Linked DNA regions of Homo sapiens: all the other regions are linked to region 1. The links are contacts of gene promoters, found by promoter capture Hi-C in blood cells and fetal thymus (Javierre and others, 2016). All regions are on one chromosome and are shown on one strand. The core of a region is centred on a gene start or on the middle of the fragment in contact, and the rest is flanking DNA. Distances in the headings are between cores, read along the strand shown.

Evidence for each region. The method cuts DNA at HindIII sites, captures the fragments that hold promoters and counts their contacts. A CHiCAGO score of 5 or more calls a contact.
Region 2: the fragment with the promoter of ERAS here is called in contact with the fragment with the promoter of SYP-AS1 in region 1 in 2 of 17 cell types (neutrophils and activated CD4 T cells); the score reaches 5.5 in neutrophils.
Region 3: the fragment with the promoter of GLOD5 here is called in contact with the fragment with the promoter of SYP-AS1 in region 1 in 2 of 17 cell types (fetal thymus and neutrophils); the score reaches 6.9 in fetal thymus.

What each region holds. Positions count from the first base shown.
Region 1 is chrX:49,197,155-49,200,891 of GRCh38, forward strand. It overlaps SYP-AS1 (SYP antisense RNA 1), which reads left to right and starts at 1,685. Exons shown (of 2, transcript NR_046649.1): 1 at 1,685-2,070. SYP (synaptophysin) reads right to left here and starts at 3,039. Exons shown (of 7, transcript NM_003179.3): 1 at 2,997-3,039; 2 at 1,814-1,879; 3 at 561-685. The coding sequence starts at 3,032. RefSeq lists silencers at 2,872-2,921, 2,992-3,231. The HindIII fragment of the contact is 12,908 bases long and covers 1-3,737 here.
Region 2 is chrX:48,825,165-48,828,591 of GRCh38, forward strand. It overlaps ERAS (ES cell expressed Ras), which reads left to right and starts at 1,349. Exons shown (of 2, transcript NM_181532.3): 1 at 1,349-1,385. RefSeq lists a silencer at 1,167-1,216. The HindIII fragment of the contact is 5,532 bases long and covers 1-3,427 here.
Region 3 is chrX:48,759,832-48,763,184 of GRCh38, forward strand. GLOD5 (glyoxalase domain containing 5) reads left to right here and starts at 1,916. Exons shown (of 4, transcript NM_001080489.3): 1 at 1,916-2,022. The coding sequence starts at 1,960. RefSeq lists a cis regulatory region at 1,668-2,410. The HindIII fragment of the contact is 2,551 bases long and covers 1,787-3,353 here.

The sequences.
Region 1 (3,737 bases), core at 435-2,934:
GTATTTTTAGTAGAGACGGGGTTTCTCCATGTTGGTCAGGCTGGTCTCGAACTCCTGACCTCAGGTGATCCGCCCACCTCGGCCTCTCAAAGTGCTGGGATTACAGGCGTGAGCCACTGTGCCTGGCGGGAGTTGGGTCTGTTTTAGTTACTATCATGCTTCCAGCACTTTGAGTAGTACCAGATATAAAATAAGTTCTCAAAAATGTGTATAGAATGAATGAATGGGGATTAAATAATAATATTGGCTAACATTAATTGGGTACCTACTGGGTTAAGGTATGTATATACACCTGTCTTACTTTTGTATCTTGTTTATTGCCTGTCCCTTACCCCTTCGCTGGAACAGAGCCAGAGGGCCACAGCCTATGTCTGCCTTGCTCACCACATAGTCCTAGAGTCCAGAGCAGTGCCAGGTACAAGGCAGGTGCTCAGTGATCCCAGTGGATGTAGCCTCGAGGTGGGAGCTGGGCAGGAGCTACTTGCGGGGGGAGGTATTGGCCGGTTCCACCCTGCCCCTTCCTCTCCCAGGTCTGTTGGTATCCCAGGGTGGGAGCACACCTGAAGGGGTACTCGAACTCGACCTCGATGCTGAGGTCACTCTCGGTCTTGTTGGCACAATCCACGCTCAGCTGGAGCTCCCCACTGTAGCTGCCGCATGTGGCAAAGGCGAAGATGGCGAAGACCTTGGGCAGCAGGGATGGGGATGGCCACAGTGAACCTGTGTGCATGTGGGAGGGAGGTGCCCTCCTCTGGACAGATCGGGGGCCCAGCACAGGCAGCAGCAGATGGAGCAGTCCCCACCCCCACCCCCTAATCAGGGCTCATCGGGACCAAGGACAAGCTGATTACAAGGGTATGGCTGTCTCTTCCTGTTTCTCTCTCTGTGTCTCTCTCTGTCTCTGCCTTTCCATGCTGACCTCCCTCTTCTCTGTTTGTCTCTGTTGTTCTCTGTGTATCTCACTGTGTCTCTGTTTCTCTCGGTATCTCTGTTTCTCTATGTGTCTTTGTCTTTCTCAGATGTCTCTTTGTCTCTCTGTGTCTCTGATCCTCTCTGCCTCTGCCTATCTGATCTGTCGATGTCTCTTTTTGTCTCTTTTTTCTCTGTCTGTGTAAGTGTATGCCTGTATGTCTGTGTCTTTCTGTTTCTTGGTCTGTTTGTCTCTGTCTCTCTGTCCTGTCTCTCACTCGGTCTCCGGATGGTTCTCTCTCTGTCTCCCTCTTGCCTCTGTGTGTTGGTTTCTCTTTTTTCTGAGTGTCTCTTTCTCTCTGTGTCTCTCTCTCCCTCACCCTGTTTTCCTGCCTCTCTCCCTGCGTCTGTTTCTCTTTGCATCTGTTTTCTGTGTCTCCTTTTTCTTTGTTTCTGTTTGTCTCTTCTCTCTTATGTCTGTATCTCTTCTCATCTCCATATTTCTTTTTTTTTTCTCAGTATTTCCATCTCTGTCTTTATCATTCCCTGTCCCTCATTCTCTCTGTCACCTTCACTGTCTCTGGGTTTCTCTGACTTTGCATCTCTCACCCAGCATCTGCTACAGGCTCCACCTCCCCCACCCCTCCCTCACTTCAAGAGAGGAGGTAGGACGTCACAGTCTCCCACTTCACAACGGGGGTACCCTCAGCCCTATGTGACGTCACAGCTCATCTGTTTTCTGGCTTCAGACCCCTGAAACCTCACCCTGGAGCCCAATTCCCCCATCCCCTACAACCCCCGCACTCATCCCTGGCTACTCGCCCCTACTCCACCCCTGCTCTTCTGGACCCCATGACCTCCCTCTCTCCCTGCACTCTGCCCCAACAGCCCGGACCACACTCACCCATTGCAGCACCTTCACAAAGCCGAGGGGCTCCTTGACCACCCGGAACTGACCCCCAGCCACCAGCTGAGGAGAGAAACAGTGGGGAAGGGGTGGGGTTGTTGGAGGTACAGGGAGGTGAGCGGCAAGGCTGCCCATCAATGACCCCAGGGGATGGAGCATGTGACCTCGGGGAGAGGGTGAGAAGGAGAAAGTGACACCTTGGGGATGGTGTGAGCCCCAGGGTCCAAGGACTGGTGGGAAGGTCTGAAGAGATGGTGAGTCAGATGGCAGAGGAAGTCGGGGGTGAGGGAGATGGGGATGAGGTCAGGACTAGTTAAGGAGGGGGAGCAGGTTTGAAACGTAAAGGCGAGTCGGATGGGGAAGGGGTTCGGGTAGAGAATGGGGATGGAGTGGGGTGCATTCGGGTGGGGGGGTTGTGATGGTGAAGGTGAGTCATAACGGGGCAGGAGTCGGTTTGGCTCAGGTGGGGGAAGGGTCTGCAGGGGTAAAGGTGTGTTAGACGGCGGTGGCGGTAGATATTTGAGGTGATGGGGATGGGGAAGGGTTGGGACTGATTGGGGGTGAGTTTCTGAGGTGGCAAAGACGAGAGACATGGCGGAGAGGGTCTGGACTGATTAAGGTGGGGGAGGGCTGGGACACGGCTTCAGTCGCTATGTGTTGGGGGTGAGGAGGCTGGGGGTTTTGGAAGGAGTAAAACCGGATTGTCCCCTAGGTGTGCTCTGGGGGAAGGGGTGGTCGCCTATGGGGGTACAGTCTCTGTTTGGGAGGGGCGGGTGCCAGCCCTCTCCCCCATCCCCGCCCCCACACCTTCTGTCGCTCTATTTCCTAGCTTATCCGCAGCACCCCCCATCTTCCTTCCACTCTCCCCTCCCCTTGTCCCTTGCCCTCACTCCAGCCCCCAGGCCCCTATTCCTCCCCTCGCGGTCGCCAGTAATAAACGGGGCTCCGGGGGCCCCCGCTGCGGCAGTGAGGACGGCCCTCGCTGCGGCAAAGAGCGCACTCCTTTTCTCCACCTCCCCCTTCCTCCCCTTCACCTGCCGCAGACCCCCATCCCCAGCGCCGGGGACCGGGTCTCCGCTGCCAGACCCTGGCCACCACCTCCCAGAGTCGGCTGGCCTGAGCGACCCGGCCTAGGCAGCCGGGCGGCGGCGGGCTCTGTCCACGGTGCTGGAGCGCGTACCTGATTCACCACGTCCATGTCCGCCAGCAGCAGCATCAGCAATGCAGGGGGCGGGAGGCTCGGCTAGCAAGGGCGGCGCGGGGCGCGGCGGGGGCGGCGCGCGCTCGTTGGAACAGCCCAGGCGGCTGCAGCCCCGCCCCTCGCGCCCCCTCCTTGCCCGCCACGCGCCTGCGCACAGCGGGTTGTACCACAGTCTCACCGGCAGCCATTCCGGCCCGGAGGCTGGAGCCGTGAGAGCGTGCGGGAATATGCGTTGGGAAAACACAAGTCGAGGGCCGGGGAGAGGAGACCTCCCTGCTCGGTCCTACAGTGTGACAACTTTGCCAGGCTCTTTTCTGAGTTTGTTAAACATGTTCACTCATTTAATGCTTACAGAAGTCCTACGTTGTAGGGACTATTAGGCCGTTTTTACAGACGAGGAAAATAATTCCCCAGAGAGCTTAAGTGACTCTCACAAGGTCAGCCAGCTACTAGCTGGCAGTGCCCAGAGTCCCTGCAGTTTAAACACGGTTCAAGGCCTTCCAGGTTCCTTTTTCATAGTCTGCATTTTAAGCACACCCTGAAACTCCTGCCCCCATCTAGCCATCTCCCTTATTTCTTTCTTCCTCTTTGTCAAATTAATGCCTACTCGAACTCTACCACTTTACCTATTTATTCCTTAGCTCTCTCTTAATTGGAATAACCCTCCTTCCTGCGACTAAAACTAGGCCCATCAAGGTCAACAGTGATGGCTATGATGCA
Region 2 (3,427 bases), core at 99-2,598, 370 kb before region 1:
AGAATCCATGAGAAAATGGGTGCTTGCCTTATAAATAGGAGCCTCACAGCCAGTCCCAGCCACACCCACACCCTAGGCTGAGAAGGCAAGAAAACTAGCAGGAAGTATCCTTACCAGGCCTGTTTCCCCACTGTCTCATTGGCCTGACTGGGGATGGTGGGAGGTCCAGGTTTAACTTGAATGTGGTGGTCATGGTAGCTTCTTGGCAGAAGGGGTGCCTGCCATTGACCACAGGTGGGAAATTGGAGGACAGTCTGAGAGCTGAATTTCTCCCACGTGGTGAGAATTGCTTTGGCAGCTCAAGGGAGTTGGATCTGAGGTTTCCAGGACTTTTCTTCATGGCCACCTTATGATCCCAAGCTGACCACCACAGCCTTACTGAGTCAAGAAGAGGAGGGATGGGGAAGGGCCGGGGCTGCCCCGTTCTTGTTTTGTTTTGTTTTTTGAGATGGAGTCTTGCTCTTGTCACCCAGGCTGGAGTGCAGTGGCACGATCTCGGCTCATTGCAGCCTCTGCCTCCCAGGTTCAAGTGATTCTCCTTCCTCAACCTCCTGAGTAGCTGGGATTACAGGTGCCTACCACCACACCTGGCTAATTTTTGTATTTTTAGTAGAGACGGGGTTTTGCCATATTGGGCAGGCTGGTCTCAAACTCCTGACCTGGTGATCCGCTGGCCTTGGTCTCCCAAAGTGCTGGGATTATGGGTGTGAGCCACCACTCCCGGGCCAGGGGCTGCCCTGTTTTAAGAGCCCTCTGGATGCCCCACCTCTGCTGCCCTCTCATTGATCAGGACTGTGCATGTGGTTGCCATAGCTGCAAGGGAGCCTGGGAAATGTGTAGTTTGACAGGCAGCCGCCTCCAATCAGGGTCTTTCTTCCCTGACAGAATGACCCCTCCTCTGTCACTGTCTTTTCTCCAGAGCTACCAAAAAACCGAGTTGAGGCAGCACAGGCTCTGTGGCCTGAAAGAGCTTCCCACAAAACCGTTCCCAAAGTCAGGCCATCCTGGTCAAAATCTAACACCCAACTCTCCCACACACACACACCACCAACAGGAAAGCAAGGGAGAGGCGCCACAGGGGACACACGGGGAGGTTTGGCCGCCGTCCGTGCACCCCTAGAGGCCGCTGTGGCACCCACGTGCCTGTGCGCAAGCCGCCTGGGGGGGCACGACCCCTTGCTCCCCCGGGGCAATGGCACGGGCAGGGGCGGGGCAGTGGCAGGGGCAGGGGCGCGGCGCAGGGGGGTGGGCGGCCTGAGGAGCCGAGGGAGGGCGGCTGCGCATGTCCACTCCCCCAACCGCCGCCGGGGTGCCCCGGGGAGCAGCGTCGCCCCCCGCCAGGCCTGTCAGAGCGTCCCAGCGCGCCCGCCTCCCCACGGACACAGGTGAGCGAGGCGCCGGTGCCCCTGGCCCTGCCAGGCCTGGGGGTATCCCCGCGCCGGCTTTGGGGGATCGTCCCCCAAGCGCCAAGCCTTCTCCCGGGCGAGCGGCCCCTCACTCGGCCGGCCGGGAGGGGTGTCGGCGCTTGGCTGGAAGCGGGGCCGCCTCACCCGGAGTCGGGATGGGTCTTGACAGGATGCCCGGGCGACGCTGCTCACACCGAGCCCGAAGTGGAGTCCTGGTTTCGGGGACCCTTCCGCACTCCGAGCTTTGCACCTCACCCGGCCTCGTCCGGGAAAGCACGACCTGGCGAGGCCGCCCTAACCCCAGGTCCCGGCCCCTTAGCGCGCCAGCCTTGGTGAGCTGGGCGAAGCCCCCCAACCTGGTCCCAGCGGCTCTGAGCGCGCGGCCACGGGGACCCGCCGGGGGCTCCGCGCCACTTGAGAGGACCGAGCCCCCAATCTCCGGCGCCTCCCGCGGGCTGAGGCCCCGGGCCAGTGCCCTCGGCACGTGCCTCTGCGCCTCGGGCTCCTCCCGGGAGCGGAGCCTTGGGGACCAGGGCCGCGGCCTCCCTGCGCGTCGCGGGGACTGGGCGAGTGTGGCCCCGTCCCGCCAGGCACCTGGGGTGGAAGCTGCGCTCCGCCACTCGGCCAGGCCCCGGGCTTTTCCTTCCTCACCGTCGGCGCCCCCAGACTCCAGCCGCTCAGACCCCGACTTAAGAGGCAGCCTCGACCCCGCCTCTGCCTTCTGACCCATCCCTAAAGATGGCCGGGCACCCCTACAGGACCCCCAGAAGCCGACCTCTCCCTCCACGTGCGCCGCCGCCTCGCCCCTCCCCGCAGTCCTCCAGGTCTTCTTCCTGTCCCCAACCGTCGGGGACCCCCAAGCTCCGTCCTCCGCTTCCTGCTCTCTTTATCCCGCCCCCGCTCCTTCTGGGCCAACGCCGCCAGTGACTATTCCCAGGGATCCCTCAGAGCTGAGGACGCCGCGGCCGCATCCCCATTTGGGACCTTGCCCCGACTCCGACCTCCGGATCTCCAGCTCCACCAAACCTCGAAGCCACCATCCGCCCCCAAACTGCCGCTGCGCCAGGCTTTCGGAGGGGAGTCGTGGCAACAGCCATTAGGATGCACTAAGCAGGGCACTTCCTGAGCCCAAGGACACCGAGGGGCATTCACTGAGTGAATGGGGATGTGCTGCTAATAACTAACACTAATTGACCACCTGCCGTGTGCCCATCCTCTTCGAACATGCAACTTCCTTGTTCCTTATCTTGTTACTGTCTCTTTCTCTCTGCCAGAATCCAATCCTCACAAGGGCAGGGACTGGGGTCTGTTTTGTTAACTGCCATATCACAATGCCTGGCACGAAGGAAGATTCTTGAATTAATGAATGGAGATTAAATTATAATTTAAAAGCCTGGCATGAACTGAGCACCTTCTGCATGCTTATCACCCGCTACTGACATATAGTTCACTTTTTTTTTTTTTTTTTTTTTGAGACGGAGTTTTGCTCTTATCTCCCAGGCTGGAGTGCAAGTGGTGTGATCTCAGCTCACTGCAACCTCCGCCTCCCGGGTTCAAGCGATTCTTCTGCCTCAGCCTCCCGAGTAGCTGGGATTACAGGCGTCCACCACCACTCCTGGCTAATTTTTTTGTGTTTTTATTAGAGACAGGGTTTCGCAATGTTGGGCAGGCTGGTCTCGAACTCCTGACCTCAGGTGATCCACCCGACTCGGCCTCCAAAGTGCTGGGATTACAGGCGTGAGCCATTGTGCCCCGCCCCCTTTTTAACCTAGTTTGTTGTCTCTCACCCCGACCAGAATATAACCTTCATGAGGGCTACAGTTTGTTGTCTATTTATTGCCCAACTCCATGTCCTTGCCACACAGTAGGTTCCCAATAAATGTATGTTGAATAATTAATAAAGACTACATTCTAATGATAATGGCTAACAGACCACGTGATTTACATATTTATTTGGTTTATTATATTATCTGCCTCTGCCTTTTAGAACATAAACCTTCTGGGGGTGGGAATGTTGGGTC
Region 3 (3,353 bases), core at 666-3,165, 440 kb before region 1:
CGAGAGAAAGAGTCTCCTTCTGTCATCCAGGCTGGAGTACAGTGGCACGATCTCAGCCCACTGCAACCTCTGCCACCAATTCAAGTGATTCTTGTGCCTCAGCCTCCCGAGTAGCTGGGATTACAGCTGCGTGCCACCATGCCCGGCTAATTTTTGTATTTTTAGTAGAGATGGGGGTTTCACCATATTGGCCAGGCTGGTCTTGAACTCCTGATCTCAATTGATCCACCCGCCTTAGCCTCCCAAAGTGCTGGAATTACAGGTGTGAGCCACCACCCTCAGCCTGTTTTTCAAATCTTTTATACAAACCTGTATTCACATATTATTTGTGTAACTCTTTTTAAAGGAAAATCATATGCTTAAAAACAATATCTGGCCGGGCACGGTGGCTCACGCCTGTAATCCCAACACTTCAGGAGGCCAAAGCAGGCCAATTGTAGGCAACATAGCAAGACCTCATCCCTACTAAAAATACAAAAATTAGCCAGGCGTGGTGACACACACCTGTAGTCCCAGCTACCCAGGAGGCTGAGGCAGGAGGATCCCTTGAGCCCAGGAGTTTGAGGCTGCACTGAGCCATCATGGCGCCAGTGGGCTCCAGCATGGGTGACAAAGTGAGACACTGTCTCAAAAAAAAACAAAAACAAAACAATATCCACAACACAAAGTGTTTGTGTTGGGGGTAACTAGAAACAAAAATCTCAAACTCACATGCTCCAGGGGCCAGACAAGTAACCTGTAAGGGAGATGGGGGAGTTCTGCTCAGGGTAAAGTGAACAGCAACTGGGCTGATGAATGTTCTCTGACTCTCAGCAGCGGAAGGTGAGGGTGAGTGAAGGGTGAGTGGGGAGGAGGAGGAAGACTGCAAATCTCATCCCCCAAAACTCATCCCCCAAAATAATTCAGGAACATCACACCCTGGGGCTCAGAACTTTTTTTTTTTTAAACAGAGTCTCACTCTGTCACCCAGGCTGGAGTGCAATGGCGCGATCTCGGCTCACTGCAACCTCCGCCTCCCGGGTTCAAACTATTCTCCTGCCTCAGGCTCCTGAATAGCTGGGACTACAGGTGCACACCACCATGCCTGGGTAATTTTTGTATTTTTAGTAGAGATGGAGCTTTACCATGTTGGCCAGGCTGGTCTCGAACTCCCAGCCTCAAGTAATCCGTCCACCTTGGCCTCCCAAAGTGCTGGGATTACAGGCGTGAGCCACCGTGCTTGACCAAGGGGCTCAGAACTCTTAAGAGTTCAGGGATCTTGGCTTGGAAACAGACACCTAATGGGTCAGAGCAGTCATACTCTAACTCAGATAGCTCACAACTTCATACCCCTGACACACACTCTCAAACAGCTCACAGATCTCACACTTTGGAGACATACCCCTAAGTAGACCAGAGGCATCACACGCTAGAATAAAGATCCCCTTAATACTTGGTGGTTTTTCAGTATTATTATTATTGAGATGGAGTCTTGCTCTGTCACCCAGGCTGAAATGCAATGGCGCCATCTCGGCTCACTGCAACCTCCGCCTCCCGGATTCACGCGATTCTCCTGCCTCAGCCTCCCAAGTAGCTGGGATTACAGGCGCCCGCCACCATGCCTGGCTAATGTTTTGTATTTTTAGTAAAGATAGGGTTTTGCCATGTTGTCCAGGCTGGTCTCGAAATCCTGATCTCAGGTGATCCACGTGCCTTGTCCTCCCAAAGTGCTGGGATTACAGGCATGAACCACCGCACCCAGCCTTCAGTGTTAACAAGAAGTAATCCCTTACACACATCCACTTTAAGCTTTCAATTTTGAGGCCCTGAATTTAATGTTAAAGTCCTTCCATTTGCACTACCTACCTGTGTCACCTCCCACAGTCCTCAGCCTGTGCCCTCCCATTCCTGCCCCTTGATCTCCAGGCGCTGAGCCAGAGGATTGTCGGGAGGACCCTGGGCAAAGACGCCTACCCTGCCATGCTGCGCCATCTGCCCTCCAGGCTGCCAGTCAAGATGTGGGGCAGGACTTTGGAGAAACAGGTGAACAAGATGGCCCCTGGGGATCTGGGGCAAGGGTGTTGGCACTGAAACTGGTCTAGTAACCTGTTTCCCTTCTCTGCGGGCTCCCATTTCCTGTCCTCCTCTCTCCCTTTCTCTTTCAGAGACAAGCAGAGGGCAGCAGAGGCCCATGGAAAGGCCCGGCTCTAAGCCATGGAGGGCCCTGTGCTCAGGTGTGCAGGGCTGGGCCGGGGCTGAGGGCTGGCTCCTCCCCCAGTTTAGCCAGGGACAGGTGGAGAGATACAAAGGTGGCTCACGCAGGGTGCCCCCAAAGCTGTCATGATTAAGGCCATGTGGAGAGAGGCTAGGAAACACAGCGCTGACCTTGAGCTTTAGGAGAGGAATTCAGAGGCCCCTGGCAACCTGAAGGGGACCTTGAAGAGGACCCTGTAGGAAGACAGAACACTTCCCTGTAGAGGAGGCCAAAGGAGGAAGGACATGGTGTTCCGGGCACTCTGACTATAGGGATTTTATATGCTGTGGTGAGAAATAAAATGGATTATATTTTTGTAGAGTGTGTAAAACGGGGCTTGGCACACAGTAAGCCTTGTGTGATTACTATGTCTTTTTTTTTTTTTTTTTTTGAGACCGAGGTTTGCTCTTGTCGCCCAGGGTGGAGTGCAGTGGTGCAATCTCAGGTCACTGCAACCTCTGCCTCCCAGGTTCAAGCGATTCTCCTGCCTCAGCCTCCCGAGTAGGGGATTACAGGTGCACGTCACCATGCCCAGCTAATTTTTGTATTTTTAATAGAGACAGGATTTCACCATGTAGGCCAGGCTGGTCTCAAACTCCTGACCTCATGTAATCCACCCACCTTGGCCTCCCAAAGTGCTAGGATTACAGACGTGAGCCACTGCACCCAGTCCTTTGTGTGATGACTATGTCTTGATCATCATTTTATAAAGCAGGCTTTGTAACTTCACCTCCAAGAGTCTGCAGGATCCAGACCCTGCCTTGCCCTCCCACTTATCTCTCACTCACTCTTGGGTTCTGAGCTACGCTGGCCTTCCTGTTATTGAAGACAGCCATCCCTGCTCGTCCTTGAATTTGCAAGGATGGAGCTCCGAGTCTGCAAAGCAGGATCTGGGGAGTGAATCTAAGCTGGCAGGGAAGAATAGAATAATGGGAGGAATAGGTGGAGTTTATTTCTAACAGACTATCAAAATGATGCAGATGTGGCCAAAGCAGTGCTTAGAGGAAATCTATAGTTCTAAATGCACAGATCAGAAAAGTAGAAAAGTTGAAAATCAATGACCTGAGCTTCCCTATCAAGAAACTGGGAAAAGAATGGCAAGTGGAACCTAAGAAAGTAG